4 separate regions of the Homo sapiens genome follow, and all the other regions are linked to region 4. The links are contacts of gene promoters, found by promoter capture Hi-C in human tissues and cell types (Jung and others, 2019). All regions are on one chromosome and are shown on one strand. The core of a region is centred on a gene start or on the middle of the fragment in contact, and the rest is flanking DNA. Distances in the headings are between cores, read along the strand shown.

The links. The method cuts DNA at HindIII sites, captures the fragments that hold promoters and counts their contacts. A contact is called where the count stands out against the background at its distance.
Region 1: a contact is called between a fragment that was not itself captured here and the fragment with the promoter of RAF1 in region 4, in 1 of the 25 tissues and cell types used here (spleen).
Region 2: a fragment that was not itself captured here is called in contact with the fragment with the promoter of RAF1 in region 4 in 1 of the 25 tissues and cell types used here (adrenal gland).
Region 3: a contact is called between the fragment with the promoter of NUP210 here and the fragment with the promoter of RAF1 in region 4, in 1 of the 25 tissues and cell types used here (spleen).

What each region holds. Positions count from the first base shown.
Region 1 is chr3:12,145,386-12,148,085 of GRCh38, forward strand. It overlaps SYN2 (synapsin II), which reads left to right. Exons shown (of 13, transcript NM_133625.6): 4 at 294-450. Among named protein-coding and RNA genes, the nearest start is that of TIMP4, 12 kb to the right of the region's middle. The HindIII fragment of the contact is 7,152 bases long and covers 1-2,700 here.
Region 2 is chr3:13,467,313-13,470,344 of GRCh38, forward strand. No RefSeq gene overlaps it. Among named protein-coding and RNA genes, the nearest start is that of HDAC11-AS1, 11 kb to the right of the region's middle. The HindIII fragment of the contact is 7,067 bases long and covers 1-3,032 here.
Region 3 is chr3:13,418,788-13,421,840 of GRCh38, forward strand. It overlaps NUP210 (nucleoporin 210), which reads right to left and starts at 1,535. Exons shown (of 40, transcript NM_024923.4): 1 at 1,273-1,535. The coding sequence starts at 1,439. RefSeq lists silencers at 750-1,319, 1,370-1,769. The HindIII fragment of the contact is 28,440 bases long and covers 1-3,053 here.
Region 4 is chr3:12,662,826-12,665,525 of GRCh38, forward strand. RAF1 (Raf-1 proto-oncogene, serine/threonine kinase) reads right to left here and starts at 1,292. Exons shown (of 17, transcript NM_002880.4): 1 at 988-1,292. RefSeq lists enhancers at 374-984, 985-1,596, 1,208-1,557, 1,598-1,667 and a silencer at 798-1,017. The HindIII fragment of the contact is 15,309 bases long and covers 1-2,700 here.

The DNA.
Region 1 (2,700 bases), core at 6-2,505, 520 kb before region 4:
ATTAGCTGGGCATGGTGATGTGTGCCTGTAGTACTACTTACTTAGCAGGCTAAGGCAGGAGGATCACCTGAACCCAGGAGTTTGAGGTTACAGTGAGCTATGGTTGTGCCACTGCACTTCAGCCTGGGCAACAGAGTAAGACCTGTCTCTAAAATAACAACAGTAAAATGAGGGGCTTGGACTAGGTGGTTCCTAAGCCCTCTTCTTTATCTTGGGTTTTGGAAATGGGAACCAAAATGATGTATGGCCTGAAGTGCTGGTTAATGGCAAACCTGCCTCTACCTTCTCACCAGGTCCTTCCGGCCAGACTTCGTGCTCATCCGGCAGCATGCATTTGGCATGGCGGAGAATGAGGACTTCCGCCACCTGATCATTGGTATGCAGTATGCAGGCCTCCCCAGCATCAACTCACTGGAATCCATATACAACTTCTGTGACAAGCCATGGGTGGTGAGTGAGGCCCCCTTCCCCCAAGTAAAAGGGTAGGATTCAGGCCCTACATCTCCCAGGTCCCTAGCAGGGACTCAAGATGCAGTAGGCCCCAGCCCCAGGAGGGTCCCTACATCTTCCAGGCCCCTAGGAGGGTCCTCAAGATGCAGTTGGCCCCAGCTAAGAGGATGTGAGAGGAGCTTCCCCTGGGACATGGGGGAGGGCTGGCCATCAGAATAGCACAGCATCACCTGTCACAGGCTCAGCACCTTTGCTGCGGAGTGGACCTTTGGCCTCACAACAAAGTCGCACAAAGATACCGTGAAGAAGCCCTTATAGGTCTGTAGGCTCTGCCCTTGGCCATAGGCTGCAATGATAAAAATGTCTGTTTCTTGCCTCCTAGAATGATTAAACTTTTGGAAAGGCCTGAGCCCAGTGACAACCAAGGGAATAGTCCAACTCAGGTAGTGACAGAGTCCTACCAAGTGGTTCAGCAACCTGAAAATGAAATTTATCCTCATGCATGTGAATCAAATACTTATGAGCTAGAAGTGTCTTGGAGATCATCAAAGCCTAACCCTAATTCTGACCTTAACCTTTCATGATAGAGATATGAAAATTAAAGAAGGAAAGTAAGGTGTAGAAAACTACTTACTATAGGATGCCAGTTTCTGAGATTTTTCTGTTAATTTCATTTAATCCTCACCTTACAAGGAAGATATCATTATTGTCACTTTTTACAGAGAAACAAAACCCAAAAAGGATTAAGTAACTTGCCAAAGTTACAGTGCCAGGATTTCTCTACATCCCACTGCCTCTCCCATAGATTGAGGCTCCTATATAAGGAGGAAACTGTTCTGGTTTTCTCTTCCTTGGCCAATTTGGAAATCTAGGAGGGCAGTGGAAACTTTTAGGCAGATAGAAAAAGTGGGGCTAGGAGGGAGAGTGACTTATGATGGCTTTGGGGGCACTCTGGCTTCCCCTCCGACCACTGAGGGGACCCAGCTCCTCTGCTGGCTCTGCTACTTCAGGCTGGCCCTCTCAGAAGGTAACACCTACCCCTAATCACATCCTCATTGGCTTGCAGTATGCAGGCCTCCCCTGCATCAACTCACTGGAATCCATTTATAACTTCTGTGACAAGCCATGGGTGGAAAGTGAGGCCCCCTTCCCCCAGGTAAAAGGCTAGGATCCAGACCCTGCATCTTCCAGGCCCCTAGGAGGGACTTCTGGACCCCAAGATGCAGTAAGCCCTTCTTGTTTTGTAAAAATGAAATTTCAGCTGTCACACGCCCTGGATTGCCAAGGTTCCTGGAACTTGTGTCTAATTGTGAAGTTTCCACGCCTTTACACCACTCAGAGAGCTGAAGAGGGGTGTGTGTGTGTGTGTATGTGTGTGTGTATGTGTGTGTGTTAACCAAACAGATCTGTCACTTCTGATCTTGATCTTTTTTTTCACCCTGGAACTAACAGCTTTCTTTTTCCTTTTGAAGCCAGGGAGAGCTTGGAGTGTAAGAAAAAGATCAATGGACAAGTAGTCAGGAGGGCTGGGAGCTGCCATGGTTAAGGAGGGGGTTGGGTTCCCAAGCTCCACTTGTTCAGCCTTTCCTTCTGCGTGGCCTGAGGCATCTGGAATCCTAGATTCTGCAGAAACACGCTAACAGAGTGTGATTTTAGTATGTTGCCAATCACAGAAGAGCATATGTGAGACCTTTACCAAGTGTCTTTTTTGTGGACCTCCCCTTTCTCCTCAGTCACATGTCCTTCCTACGGCACACGTGTCCTAACCCACGTGCACCCCCGGTACTTGTCAGAATTTGACTCTCTCCTAGCCACACAGGGTGATCCTGCTATTAGCAGCTTTTTCTGGGTGATTTCACTGCTTATCAACTCTCTGACCGAACCTGTGCCCCAGTTTCTTCATCTACAAACTGGGAATAATAGTAGCACCTGCCACCACTTTGACAGCCTGGTTGTTACAGGCTCCTAGTGTATGGGTTCTCTTAAAGAAATTTGTGGCCAGACGTGGTGGCTCACGCCTGTAATCCCAGCACTTTGGGAGGCTGAGGCAGGCACATCACGAGGTCAGGAGATCAAGACCATCCTAACTAACACAGAGAAACCCGTCTCTACTAAAAATACAAAAAAAATTAGCCGGGTGTGGTGGCAGGTGCCTGTAGTCCCAGCAACTTAGGTGGCTGAGGCGGGAGAATGGCGTGAACCCGGGAGGCGGAGCTTGCAATGAGCCAAGATCGCACCACTGTACTCCAG
Region 2 (3,032 bases), core at 419-2,918, 800 kb after region 4:
TTTTTTTCTGAGAGAAATAACTTCAGTGTAGTGGAAATGGTTCTGCATTTAGAGCCATGCTTGCTACGTGAGAATGCCTGGAAGCTTTATTTTTCTCAGCTTAAAAAAGAGCATCACTCCTGGCCCATCTTCCCGGCAGCATTTGAGCAGATGGGCCTCATCACTGATATCAATATGATGCAAACCTGTGTGATGAGAGGCTGGTGACATCAAAGATGATAAGGACAATGAATGTTGTAAGATGGGGACCAGTGGGCATGTCCTCGAGTGCTGGGAAGGAGCCCAGAGCCCACTAAAGCTTCATGAGCCCCATCATCCAATAACCTGAAGAGAACCATGTCTAGGCCTAACCTTGGCCGAGTTTGAGTCTCAATGATTTCCCTGCAGACTACAGACTGCTTGACCATGCAGAGTGTATTTAAATAATGAAAGCACACGCTAACACGGATGAAACACCTAAATGTAAGAGCTAAAACTATAAAACCCTTAGAAGAAAACACAGGGGAAAATCTTCATGACATTGGGTTTGGCAATAATTTCTTGGATAGGATACCAAAAGGATAGACAGCAAAAGCAATAATAGACAAATGGAATTACATCAAACTTAAACATTTCTTCACCTCAAAAAAACCAACAGAGTGAAAAGGCGACCTACAGAATAGGAGAAAATATTTACAAATCATATATATGACAAGAGGCCAAAAACCAGAATATATAAAGAAGTCCTAAAACTTAACAACAACACAATAAAAAATGAATAAGGGTCTTGAATAGACATTTCTCCAGAGAAGATATACAAATACCAACAAGCACACGAAAAGGTGCTCAGCACCACTAACTAGTAGGGAAGTGCAAATCAAAACCACAATGAAGGCTGGGCGTGGTGGCTCATGCCTGTAATCCCAATACTTTGGGAGGCTGAGGCGGGCTGATCCCCTGAGGTCAGGAGTTAGAGATCAGCTGGGCCAATATGGTGAAACCCCGTCTCTACCAAAAAATACAAAAATTAGCCGGAAGTGGTGGCACACGCCTGTAATCCCAGCTACTGGGGAGGCTGAGGTGGGACAATCACTTGAACCCGAGAGGTGGAGGTTGCAGTTAGCTGGGATAGAGACACTGCATTGCACTCCAGCCTGGGTGACACAGTGAGACCCTGTCTCAAAAATATATTTATAATAATAAAAAATTAAAAAAAACCCACAGTGAAATGTCACTTCTATTAGGAAGTGAAATGTCACACTATTAGGATTGCCACTATTGAAAAAAAAAAAAAGAAAATAACAGCTCTTGGCAAGAATGCGAAGAAATAGAACCCTTGTTCTGATGTGGGAACGCAAAATGGTATAATTGCTGTGGAAAACAGTATGATGGTTCCTAAAAAAATTAAAGATAGAATTGCCATATGATCCAGCAATCCCACTTCTGGGTACATGTCCAAAAGAAGTGAAAGCAGAGACTCCAATGGATATTTGCACGTACATGTTCATAGCAGCATTATTCACAATAGCCAAGAGGTGGAAAGAACTTAAATGTCTATTGACAGATGAATGAATACAGAAAATGTACTCTGTTCATATGATGGAATATTACTTAGCCTTAAAAGGGAAAGGAATTCTGAGCTAAGCTACGACATGGATGAATCTTGAGGACATTATGCTAAGTGAATAAGCCAGTCACAAAAGGAAAAATACTGTGTGATTCCACTTACATGAAGTACCTAGGGCAGTCAATTTCATAGACAGAAAATGGAATGGGGGGTGCCGGGGCAAAGGGGAGGGGAAAGAGCGAGTTAGTGTATAAGGAGAAGACAGTTTCAGTTTTGCAAGATAAAAAAGTCCCAGAGGGCCAGGCGTGGTGGCTCAAGCCTGTAATCCCAGCACTTCGGGAGGCTGAGGTGGGCAGATCACCTCAGGTCAGAAGTTCAAGACCATCCTGACCAACATGGTGAAACCCCATCTCTACTAAAAATACAAGAATTAGCAGGGGGTGGTGGCGGGTGCCTGTAATCCCAGCTATTCAGGAGGTTGAGGCAGGAGAATCACTTGAACTCAGGAGGTGGAGGTTGCGGTAAGCAGAGATTGTGCCATCGCACTCCAGCCTGGGCAAGAGAGTGAGACTCCATCTCAAAAAAAAAAAAAAAAAAAAAAAAAAAAGAAAAAAGAAAAAGGAAAAGAAAAAGAAAAAGAAAAAATAGTTCTAGAGACCTGTTGCACAAGGATATTTAACACTACTGAACTGTATACTTACCCATGGTTAATATGGTAAAGTTCATGATTTTTGTGTTTTTTTTTTTCGAGATGGAGTTTCGCTCTTTTTTTACCCAGGCTGGAGTGCACTGGTGTGATCTTGGCTCACTGCCCCCTGGGTTCAAGCAATTCTCCTGCCTCAGCCTCCCGAGCAGCTGGGATTGCAGGTGCCCGCCACCATGCCTGGCTAATTTTGTGTTTTTAGTAGAGATGAGGTTTCACCATGCTGTCCAGGCTGGTGTTGAACTCCTGACCTCAGGTGATCGGCCAACCTCGGCCTCCCAAAGTGCTGGGATTACAGGCATGAGCCACCGTGCCTGGCTGGTGTTTGTGTGTGTGTGTGTGTGTGTGTGTGTGTGTGTGTATGTGTGAGAGAAGTCTTGCTCTTGTGCCCCAGGCTTGAGTGCAATGGCTCGATCTCACCTCACTGCAACCTCTGCCTCCCAGGTTCAAATGATTCTCCTGCCTCTGCCTCCCAAGTAGCTGGGATTAAGGCTCCTGCCACCACGCCTGGCTAATTTTTGTATTTTTTAGCAGAGACGGAGTTTCACCATGTTGGCCAGGCTGGTCTCGAACTCCTGACGTCAGGTGATCTGCCTGCCTCGGCCTCCCAAAGTGCTGGGATTACAGACGTGAGCCACTGCGCCCGGCCTGGCTGGTTTTTACTACAGTTAAAACTCAGACACTGGTGGCCAAATCTTGTTAAATTTTCAAATGCTTCCCTTACCCTCCCATGTTGCCAAATTCATTCCTACTTGTCACTGAAGCTGCAATGTCCAGTCCATG
Region 3 (3,053 bases), core at 285-2,784, 760 kb after region 4:
TAAAAACAAACAAACAAACAAACAAAATTAGCCAGGTGGCCTGCACCTGTAATCCCAGCTACGAGGCGGGAGAATCGCTTGAACCCGGGAGGTGGAGGTTGCAGTGAGCCGAAATCGCACCACTGCACGTCAGCATGGACGACAAAGCAAAACTCCGTCTCAAAAAAAAAAAAAAAAAAAAAAAAAGAAAGAAAGAAATAGGGCAAATAGTGCAAGCAACAGAGAAAGCTGGCTGGTCTGAGCTTCGGGCATCACACTTACATACACGCACAGACTAATACTCAAACAGGCTTGACACACACATGTCCAGGCTTACACACATGGCTGTCACGTGGTCACACCCCGTTCTGCCTCAACCTTGACCCAGTCTTGAAACAGAAATAAAGGGAGCAACTACTGAGCATCCTGGGGGTGGGAAGGGCGGAAGCCCATCTTTTCACCCCTAGGACGGCTGGGCTGGGAAGCTAAGGGCGCTCAGTCGTGCCCACGCAGCCTTGCCAGGGGCAGGAGCTCCATTTCCCCTGGTCTGCAAAATGGAAGGGCTGGACTGCACCGCCCTGTCAGTGTCGGTCTCTGGTTTCATGGGTCCCTGTGGTTCCACAGGGTCACACTCCGCATCCGACCCCTTGGAGAACTCCCAACCCGAGAGGGAGGGTGATGGAAATGCCCTGAGCATCAGGACCCGCGCCGAGGCAGCCTGAGGGGAAGCGCCGGCCTGCCTCGTCTCACTTCGCCTCTGTAAAGCGGCCCCTGGGCTTCCCTCCAAAACTCCTTTCCTCCAGGGTCTCCGTTCCTCCCCGCGACGCTAGGCGCTGCGCTTCGTTTCACAGACTCACTTCCCACGCCAGGGCGAGGGCGGTCACAGACAAACCCGAGCTGGGGTCCCAGACTCAAGGGAAGTGCGGCCCAGCTGCCCCGGCGCCCCCTCCCGGGTCAGGCCGGCTCGGGCCCGGCCGGCTTGGGCCCTGCGGTCCCAGACGCCGCTCCCCAGGCCACCCCTCCTCCCGCACAACCCAGAACACGCGGGTCACGGCCGCCAGGCTGCGCCCGCTCTGCTCGCGCCTCAGCGGCGCGGAGGCCCGGACGGCGCCATGACATGAGCAGTGGTGGCGACCCACGCGCACCCGCCGCTCCGAGTGCTGCAGCCTAGCGCCCAGCGAGAGCGCGCCGCGCACCTGCCGGCTCTGCCGGCCTCCCGGCGCCCGCCCAGCCTCTCAGCGCGAAGGCCCAGCCCGGCCCACGGCGCCCGCCCGGCCCGGCCGCGCGCCTCACCAGCGGTAGCAGCCCTCCGAGGCCTCCAGCGTGAAGTTAACGCGCGTGGCCCGCGTGAAGGGCAGCAGCACTTTGGGGATGTTGAGCTTGGCCGCAGCGGCGGAGGGGCCCGCCGCCAACAGCACCGACAGCGTCAGCAGCAGCAGCCCCCGGCCCCGCGCCGCCATCCTCGCCGCGCGTCACCTCCCGCGACCCTGCGCCCGGCCGCCCGCGCCGCCCCGTTGCCCTCCGCTCCCGCCCGCGCGCGCGCCAGGCCAGCAGGTGATGAGCGCGGGGGCGGGGCGAGGGCCGTCGGCGGCCGCCGCTTCCTGGGCCTGAGCGCGGGAACTCTGGGGGCCGAGCTCGCGGCGACCCCACCCCCAGCCCGGCCCTCGCGCAGGGACGCGGGGCTGGGGGATGGGCGCGCGCCCGGGCCCCCGGAGCTGAGGGAGAAGGCTTGGGGCGCGCCCGCGGGGACCCCTGGACCCTAGAAGTCCCAAGGGGGAGCCCCCGGGGCGCCCCGCAGCACGCATCCCGCCCTGGTATTTGCCCCTGGCGGTGGAGCCAAGCCGCCGGCTTTGGACCTTGCGCTCTGGCCCGGACCCACGGTCAGCAAGGAAGGGACACATGCCCCAGGACATTTGGGATGCAGAAAACCGGCGCCTGCCTTGTCCCAGCCCATGCTTCCCAGAAGAGGGACCCCGGGCTCGCAAAGGGAAGCCACCTGCTGAAGCGCTGAAGGCCCGGGGCCCGCTCCCCCTCGACCCCCTCACACCCTTTCCAGAGAGGCCTTAAGATTCCCATTTCTCCAGGAAAAAACCGGTTGAATGGCCCCCAGATCACTCAGCCAGAGAGCCCCAAGCTCTTGTCCTCCGCACTGCACCCCCTGCGGAAGCCATTAGAGGTTACCTATAGGTCATTTAGGGCGCCAACGCTGCCAGAGCACAACCCCCTCCACGGCCCCCACACCCACAAAAGAAAGTTTAGCACCGCGGAATCCACCTGCACACCAATGGAAGGCCTTAGATTCCGCGCTGTGCTCTGTGGCTTTTAGCTGTCTGTCGTGAATTGCATGAAGGCATGCGTCAGCAGGCACCTGACTGCTTGGTGCCGCTAAAATATGAATCTAGCCTTGCAGAGAAGGCCCAGCCTAGCGGGAGGTCAGGAAAGGGTGGGGTGAGGGTGCACTGGCCGGCTGTCTGAGGAGTGCAGGAAGTGGATGCTGACTGTAACCAGGAAGACACACAACGATGCCACTGGGTGACCAGGAAGGAGAGGATAAATGTCAGTAAGGCTAGGAAGGCTTTTTGGAGGCGGCGGCCCCTGGGTTGGGCATAGACACCGCACTGGGCTTCAGCGAGGCCCGCATAGGCTGAGCCTGCCCCTCAGGGATCATGGGGCTTTTGGATGGTGATGCGGGGTGTTTGGGGTCACCCTCGAAGCCTGAGGGCCCTAGACCAGGGAATGTGTGTGTTGGGGGAAATCTCTGGAGATAACCAGAACTAAGGGGGTGAGGGTCGGCCCTGTGTGGAACCAGGTGCTCTGGGAGGGGAATTCCAACGGGCTCCCTTTGAAGAAACAAAAAACAGACTTGCGCGGAAAAGGCAGCCTCAGAGGGTATTTGTGAGGAAGTCTGTGGGTGTCTTCTGGGTTGCACAAGATTGATTTGTTTTCCAACAGGTAATCCAGACAGATGGTTGAAACTTAGGCTCAAAAGGGTTCCAAGTGAAAGTGATTCCTCTCCCTCCCCATCACCCAATACCCTTCCCTACAGGCAATGAGTGTTTCCCACTTGAGTATAC
Region 4 (2,700 bases), core at 42-2,541:
AAGCCAATTCTTATCACACTGCATTGTTTTCACGCCTTAGGAGCGCAGGGAGGGCAGAGTCTCTCCACTCAGCCCACAGAGGACCAGGCAAGCAGAAACGCTCAATGAACGTGCCTTGAATTCATTTTCCACTTAGATTAAGTGACCCCCTAGAACCCGTTCACATCTCAAGGATACACTAAGTTCCATTCCTTCTTCCCACCACAGAATGAATACCAGGGGCACACCCAGAGCCCTAGAACGAGAACAATGAATGAACACGGCCGCCTCGCCTCTCACGACGTCCAAACCCCTCTCTCTTGGGCATCGACTCGCTCGCAGAGCCTCAGCAGCTGCAGAGCTGAAGCGTCCCGGCGGCTCTCGCGTCACACAAAAGACAGCCCTGGCTCTTCATTCCAAAGCGTCCTGAGGCCAATCCTCTATAAGTATCCCAAACCTTTCATTAATAACCCAGAGTCCTGATACCCAAGGCTAGTCCTGATACCCAAGAAGAGGCCCCTGTGCCTTTGTGGTAGGGCACTGGCCAGTTTCCTCCTCTCTTACCCGATTCCTCACGTCGTCTCTAAAAGGGTGTCACTTGACTGAAGTACCCTGAGAAAGGGTGCAAGCCCGGGTCCCACATTCGGCGGCCCAAGAGAAAAGGAATTGGCCCATCCAAGTGACAACAGATATGGGGCAGCTCTGGGCGGATTTTCCCACTGCCAAATATGAGGAATGCGCATGGCATAAGGGTGGCGTTGGCACGTTTCCGCCAAACACAAGGAAATTTGAGTGGGATGTGGGAACTCGGCTCGCCGGCCATGACACCGGACTCCGGGGCCCCCGCCCAACGCTACCCCAGGGTGACAACGGCCTGGCCCAAGCCCTCTGCCCGGCAGCCGCGGGGCCGCTCCATCAGCGCCACCCAGGCCCGGTCGCCCTGGAAGCCGATCCCTCAGCCCCGCCGCCCGGCTCCCCCGGCATCCACGACCCGGTCCTGCCACCTACCTGAGGGAGCCAGGCCGCCCCAACGTCCTGTCGTTCGGCGGCAGCTTCTCGCCCGCTCCTCCTCCCCGCGGCGGGTGAGGGAGCGGGAGGCGGTCACATTCGGCGCGTCCCCAGCCCAGGGGACGGAGCCCCGAGCAGCCCCCGCATCGTAGCAAACGCGCTCCGCGCCTCAGGGCACGCGCCCCAAAGCCCGGCCAGCTGACCCTTTTCGGGGCCCAAAAAAGGCAGCAGAAAGCCGTTCCCGCCTCACAATCGTTTTCCTCTTACTCCCGCCATCTAAGATGGCGGCCCAAGCGCCCGCGATTAAGACTCTCGGGCGGCCCAGACGAGCGAGCCCTCGACTCGGTGCTCGTCCTCCCGACCTGCGACGCCACCGGCTCTCCGATTCTGCGCGAGCCCTACTGGCAGTCGACTTCTAACTTGGCTCGGGCATCCATCGCTCTGGCCTGAACTCAGGCCCCGCCCCCGGGGCGTGGCCTAGCGATCTGGTGGCCGCCATTTCGAAGCTGAAGAGGTTAGGCGACGCTGACTTGCTTTCAGGAGAGGCACTCGGTAATCGAGAAGAACCGGCTTTCGGCCAGCCAGGAGTGGCCAGAGGCCTAGAAGGGGAGAGGAAGGCCTGCCTGCCCAGCATTGCAAGGCCCAGCGATCACCAGACGTGCCTCAGGACACAGGGCACAGTGTCCAACTTTGACGCGTCCTCTCCGGGCACTTTAATACCAAATCACGGCTCCGCCACTTGACAGCTATGTGGACAGTCCCTGAACCTTAAACGGTCTTTTCCTTGTGTGTAAATTCCGAGTTCATTTTTCCCCCATCACATTAGCAACAAGTTAAAAAAACTGATAATATCCGGTTTGGTCCAAGGTATATTGAAACCTGTTGTGTGCCCTCGCAGCGCTATCACAGTGGAACTTGGACATGTTAAAAGTATATATCCTTCCTCCCGGCAGTTTCACTTCTAGACACTAATTCTAGAGAAATAAGTATACACATACACAAAAAGCTATGTGTGAAGATATTTAATGCCATATTATTTGCATTCTGGAGAAACACTGGGGATGAAATGAAGATTAATAGGAAACTGGTTAAGAGAACGCTGCTACACATCCAATCTGGGTTGTCATCCATCCAAGAATGAACTAGATAGTTACTGAATTTAAAAAACAACAAAAAAAGGGCCCGGCGCTTTTTTTGGGATTACTCCTGTAATCCCAGCACTTTGGAAGGCCGAGGCAGGCGGATCACCTGAGGTCGGGAGTTCGAGACCAGCCTGACCAACATGGAGAAACCCCGTCTCTACTAAAAATACAAAAATTAGCCGGGCGTGGTGGCGGGCGCCTGTAATCCCAGCTACTCAGGAGGCTGAGACAGGAGAATCGCTTGAACCCGGGAGGCAGAGGTTGCAGTGAGCCCAGATCGCACCATTACACTCCAGCCTGGGCGACAGAGCGAGACTCCGTCTCGAAAAAATAAATAAATATAAAAAAATAAAAATACCAAATTAGCTGGGCATGGTGGTGCATGCCTGTCATCCCATCTACTCGGGAGGCTAAGGCAGGAGAATTGCTTGTACCCAGGAGGCGGAGATTGCGGTGAGCCGAAATCGCGTCATTGCACTCCAGCCTGGGCAACAAGAGCGAAACTCTTGTCTCAAAAAAAAAAAAAAAAAAGACATGGCTGGGCGTGGTGGCTCACGCCTGTAATCCCAGC